Linked DNA regions of Homo sapiens: region 2 is linked to region 1. Evidence: promoter capture Hi-C in 16 types of primary human blood cells and fetal thymus (Javierre and others, 2016). All regions are on one chromosome and are shown on one strand. The core of a region is centred on a gene start or on the middle of the fragment in contact, and the rest is flanking DNA. Distances in the headings are between cores, read along the strand shown. Region 1 holds the start of BRAT1 (BRCA1 associated ATM activator 1). Region 2 holds the start of INTS1 (integrator complex subunit 1).

Region 1 (2,700 bases), core at 197-2,696:
AATTAGCTGGGCGTGGTGGCCCGCACCTGTAATCCCAGCTACTCGGGAGGCTGAGGCAGGAGAATCGCTTGAACCCAGGAGGTGGAGGTTGCAGTGAGTCAAGATTGAGCCATTGCACTCCAGTCTGGGCAAAAAGAGTGACACTCCGTCTCCATAAATAAATAAATAAAATAAAGGTGACCCAGCAAAGTCAGTGCTTTTAAATTTTTAAATTTTAATATCCATAGGAATTCTGCTTTGTTTCCTAAATCTGGTGTTGGCTCCCAACAATCTTGCTATAAAACAATGCTTTGGGAACATGAGCCTTGTCTATCCACTGGCTTTGAGACTCTCGAACACACAGTTAGTGTTTTGAACTCAATTTTTTGGACCTAGTTTTTCTGCCTGTTTGCTTTCTTAAAACACAGGGTCTTGCTCTGTTGCCCAGGCTGGAGTGCCGGGGCAGGATCATAGCTCACTGCAGCCTTGAACTTCTGGGCTCAAGCGATCCTCCCGCCTCAGCCTCTGGAGTAGCTGGGACCACAGGCGCATGCTACCAGGTCTGGCTGATTTTCTTTTTTTTTTTTTGAGACGGAGTCTCGCCCTGTAGCCCAGGCTGGAGTGCAGTGGCACCATCTTGGCTCACTGCAACTTCCGCCTCCCAGGTTCAAGAGATTCTCCTGCCTCAGTCTCCCGAGTACTTGGGATTACAGGCGCGCGCCTCCACGTCCGGCTAATTTTGATATCTTAGAGATACAAAAATTAGAGACGAGACGGGATTTCGCCATGTTGGCCAGGCTGGTCTCGAACTCCTGACCTCGTGATCCGCCCGCCTGGGCCTCCCAGAGCGCTGGGATTACAGGCGTGAGCCACCACGCCTGGCCTTTTTTTTTTTTTTTTTTTTTTTTTTTAAATTTTAAGAGATGGGGTCTCGCTTTGTTGCCTAGGCTGGTCTCAACTCCTGGCTTCAAGCAATCCTCCCAACTGCGCCTCCTAAAGGGCTGGAATTACAGGCATGAGCCACAGCGCGGCCGCGGAGGACTTAATTTGAGAACCTGAAGCTAAATGACCAAGGGCTTTGGTGCACGGATCAGGACGCTTCTCTCCGGCACATAGTTTTCTCGCTCCCGCCGGTGCAGACACTGGGCGCCCTGCAGGCGAAGCCCCGCCCCTCCGGACACAACCCCGCGCCTTCCTCAGAGATCCCCGCCCTCGAGACGCCCCGCCCACCCACCGGATGCTCGGCATGAACCACTAGGCGCCTGGCGGGGGTGATCTGTCGGAGCGACCGGCTTGGCGCCTGCCTGTCCCCAGCCCCTCTCAGCTTGAACTCCTTCCTTCAAGTCTGGGCCCTCGAGGCTTCCAGAGCGGCCTCCAGGGGTGCAGTCTCAGTTCCCCACGCCAGCCGTCTCCGTCCTCCGCCTCCTCCGGGCCTGGCAGGTGGCACTGTCCGGAGGCGGAGCCTTGGGCGAGGGGTGGTTGCGGCGGAGGACGCAACCGAGCGGTGAGGCGCGTGGGCCTTCGGGGGTCGAGGTCGTGGTAGTGGGGCGCGGGGAGGCCAAGACCCGGCCGAGGGGGGCGGGCGGGCCAGGGAGCAGCCCAGCCCGGGGCGTGCGCGACCTGGGCTCGCTTCCCAGCCCGACTGTGGCCGCCTGCTCTGGCGCCCCTTCTGGACTCTCGGGCCTGGCGCTCGCGGCCAAAACTGACTTCAAAGTGTGGGGAGGGTTCCTCTTCCCGGGACGCAGCCTTCCCGGGCATTGGCAGACGGTGCCCCGGTTAGACAGAGCCGCTGACCACCCCGCCCACCCCCGAGGCTGGACGCACGGATGCACACCTGGTCCTGGGAGAGACAGGCGCCCCTTCCTTTCCGCACCCCGCCGCCCCCCTCTCCCCCCCGCCGGCTTCAGATGCAGCCACCACTAATCCTGGGAGGGACAGACACACGGACAGGTGCCCCTTCCCCTCCTCACCCTCCTACTGGCTGCAGAACAGCAAATGCAGCCACCACTGACCCTGAGAGGGACAGACACACGGACAGGCGCCCCTTCCCCTCCGCACCCCCCTGCTGGCTTCAGGACGTCAAATGCAGCCACCACTTGACGCTGGGAGGGACAGAAACTTTCCAGCCCAGGCTGGCCCTGGGGCATGGGTAGACATCCCCTTGCACACATGGCTGACCCCGGAACTCAAAGATGCCCCTGACTCTGGCCCACCTGCAGCCTGGGCCAGCACCACGCTGTTGCCCCGACTGCACCAAAGACCAAGGGTGACAGACTTTGAGTTCCGGAGGCCTTGTGGTTTCAGCTAGACCCTCATCTGCCCCTTTCAGCCCCGCCACCAGCGCTCAGGGCCCCACCTAGACCAAAGCTTTGCATCCATCCCTGCAGTACAGACCTCTGGTCTGGGGATCATGGTTCTCCTGGTCTGAGATGAAAGTTCTGGGGCCCCTTCCCAGGCCTGAGCAGGCATGGTGGGCTGCTGTGACTAGAGCGAGCTGGGTCTGGAGTGGGCATTGAGGTTTGGCTCTCACATTGCCTTTGCAGGGCCTGCGGCCTCACCATGGACCCAGAATGCGCCCAGCTGCTCCCGGCTCTCTGTGCTGTTCTGGTAGATCCCAGGCAGCCGGTGGCAGATGACACCTGTTTGGAGAAGCTCCTGGACTGGTTTAAAACGGTCACTGAAGGAGGTAAGGAGGTGGTGCTGCTGTTTACTGCCTATCCA
Region 2 (2,700 bases), core at 46-2,545, 1.1 Mb after region 1:
CAGGGGTCAGGGGAGACCTTCGACCCTTTGACTGGATGATTCCCCCACCTTTTATTTTTATTTTTTTTTAGACAGGGTCTCGCTCTGTCGGCCGGCTGCAGCGTAGTGGCACCATCATAGCTTACTGCAGCCTTGACCTCCCAAGCTGAAGAGATCCTCCTACCTCAGCCTCCTCAGTAGCTGGGACCGTAGGCATGCACCACCATGCCTGGCTAATTTATTCTTGATTTTTGTTTGTAGAGATAGGGTCTCACTATGTTGCCCAGGCTGGTCTCAGACTCCCACTTTGGCCTCCCAAAGGGCTGGGATTAGAGGTTCATGCCACCATGCCCAGCTAATTTTTATTTTTTTGTAGAGATGGGGGTCTTGCTATGTTGCTCAGGCTGGTCTCGAACTCAACCGATCCTCCTGCCTTGGTCTCCCAAAGTGCTGAGATTACAGGCATGAGCATCACACCTGGCAACTGTATGATCTTTTGTGTCTTTTGAGTTTTGTTCCCATCAGTGTTTCCATTAAAAAAAAAAAAAAAAAGGCGTGGGGGCGGGGCGGGCGCAGTAATTCCAGCACTTTGGGAGGCCAAGGCGGGCGGACCACCTGAGGTCAGGAGTTCGAGACCAGCCTGGCCAACATGGTGAAACCCCGTCTCTACTAAAAACACAAAAAAATTAGCCAGACATGGTGGCGGGCGCCTGTAATCCCAGCTACTCGGGAGACTGAGGCAGGAGAATCGCTTGAACCTGGGAGGTGGAGGTTGCAATAAGCCGAGGTCGCGCCACTGCATTCCAGCCTGGGCGACAGAGCGAGACTCCGTGCCAAAAAAAAAAAGAAAAAAGAAAAGGGTGAACTTTGTGGAACACGAGTTCTATCTCAATAAAGCTATTATTATTATTATTATTATTATTTGAGACAGGGTCTCTCCCCGGGAGCCCCCCGGGCTGCGCCCCCTCGCCAGTGCCTGCGCCCCGGCCGCCCCCGCTCTCCGGGACGTGCAGAACCTGCCACTTGACTCATCCGCGGATCCCTGACGCCACTCCTCCCCGCCGTGCGTCCTGGAGTGCGTCCCTTCGCAACGCCAGCACCACCTGTGAATGGAGAGGCCAGCGCCTGCCCCGCGCCGCCGACCCACCTGGACCGGACCACATGCGCGCGGCGCCGGCCAGCCCGCCTCCCGCCGCCATGGGGCGCTGCAGGCATCAGGCCGGCGCCGCGGGCCTCTCGCGCCTCCTTCTGGGCCCGCTTCCCGCCGCACTGTTTTCCTTCCGGTTGTTCCGGAAGTCGGGTCCTCGAGGGCGGTGAGATCGGTTTCCGATTCCGGGGTGGCCGGGTGGCGGCGGCGGCGCTCCGGTCGCGATGGGCCAGAGGTAAGTGAGCCGCGGCCTGGGCGCTTCCTCATTGCCGGGCGAGCGCCTGGTTCTCCCGGCTACCGCTCCCGGCCTCTGGGCCGTCCCTTCTGGTTCTGCCGCCTCCAGCCCGGCGTCCGCGTCGCCTGCTGCCGCCCGACTGAGCCGCTCCCGGGCGGCTGGGAGGCGGGGTCCCTGCAGCTCCTGCAGCATCGCCCCGCCGGGCGGGCGCGGGACCACTGTCCCCGGGTCCCAGGCCCAAGCCCCGTGCGGCAAGGGAGCGAATGAGCGAGCGAACGAGCGAATGAGTGAAGGAATGACCGCACGCTGGCTCCTCCGCAGGTGACGCCGCAGCCGCCGGGAGCCGCGAGGGACGGGGCAGGATGAACCGGGCCAAGCCCACCACGGTGCGCCGGCCCAGCGCCGCGGCCAAACCCTCAGGTGCGTCTCCCTCCTCGCTCTGCAGCCCGGGGGTCTTTGGGGGTCTTTGGGGGTCTTTGGGGATCTCAGCTGCCGCGGATCCTGCGTTGGGCTTGGTTGTTCCGCAGCCGCGGCTGTTTCCAGGAATTCGGTCTGGAAACACTGCTCTCGGTCCTCAGCGGCTCTGAGAGTCCCTGGGAGGCTTGGGACAGTGGCGACTTCCTTCGGGACCCCGGTGATCTCGTTTCAGGCTGAGCTGCAAGGCGGCCGACAGTAGCGGAAGGTCTCCCCAGCCAGGAGGCGGGAGGCAGCACAGTGTAGCGTAGCACGGGGTCTGCGGCTGAACTGTCGGCTCAGATCCTCCGGACTTTGCCACTCGCCTGCTGTGTGACGCTGGGCACGTCGCTTAACCTCTCTGTGTCCCTTTCTCTCTTGTAAAGTTAGAGTAATAGCACCTATTGCGGAAACTCGGGGCGGGGGTTACTAAGCACACTAATTTGGATAGACCAGAGATGGCCTGGTTTGTGGTTAGCGCTACGTGACTGTCCACCATCACCTGTGCGTATCCTGCTGGTCCCAGCTCTGCTGTAGGCTGCTGAGTGAGCTCTGGCTTCTTCCTTGCCTCCTCTGACCCTTGTTTAATCCCCTCTGACATAACAGGAGGTTAGAGTCAGTCTTTTTCCATCTTGGGTGTTGCAAATGTGCCCGGTTTTCTCTCTCCTTTCTCTGCAGGGCACCCTCCCCCAGGAGACTTCATTGCTCTGGGCTCAAAGGGTCAGGCCAATGAATCGAAAACGGCGTCCACCCTGCTGAAGCCAGCCCCTTCCGGCCTGCCTTCTGAGCGCAAGCGGGATGCGGCGGCCGCGTTGTCCAGTGCCTCGGCCCTCACCGGTCTCACCAAACGCCCCAAACTCTCCTCCACACCCCCTCTGAGTGCCCT

Evidence for each region. Contacts are between HindIII fragments. The CHiCAGO score rates a contact against its expected background, and 5 or more counts as called.
Region 2: a contact is called between the fragment with the promoter of INTS1 here and the fragment with the promoter of BRAT1 in region 1, in 1 of 17 cell types (neutrophils). The highest score is 5.5, in neutrophils.

Annotation. Positions count from the first base shown.
Region 1 is chr7:2,554,270-2,556,969 of GRCh38, reverse strand. It overlaps BRAT1 (BRCA1 associated ATM activator 1), which reads left to right and starts at 1,446. Exons shown (of 14, transcript NM_152743.4): 1 at 1,446-1,483; 2 at 2,523-2,665. The coding sequence starts at 2,539. RefSeq lists an enhancer at 862-1,539 and a silencer at 1,452-1,691. The HindIII fragment of the contact is 11,664 bases long and covers 1-2,348 here.
Region 2 is chr7:1,502,984-1,505,683 of GRCh38, reverse strand. INTS1 (integrator complex subunit 1) reads left to right here and starts at 1,295. Exons shown (of 48, transcript NM_001080453.3): 1 at 1,295-1,361; 2 at 1,683-1,781; 3 at 2,493-2,700. The coding sequence starts at 1,724. RefSeq lists an enhancer at 1-203 and a silencer at 1,090-1,649. The HindIII fragment of the contact is 9,546 bases long and covers 1-2,700 here.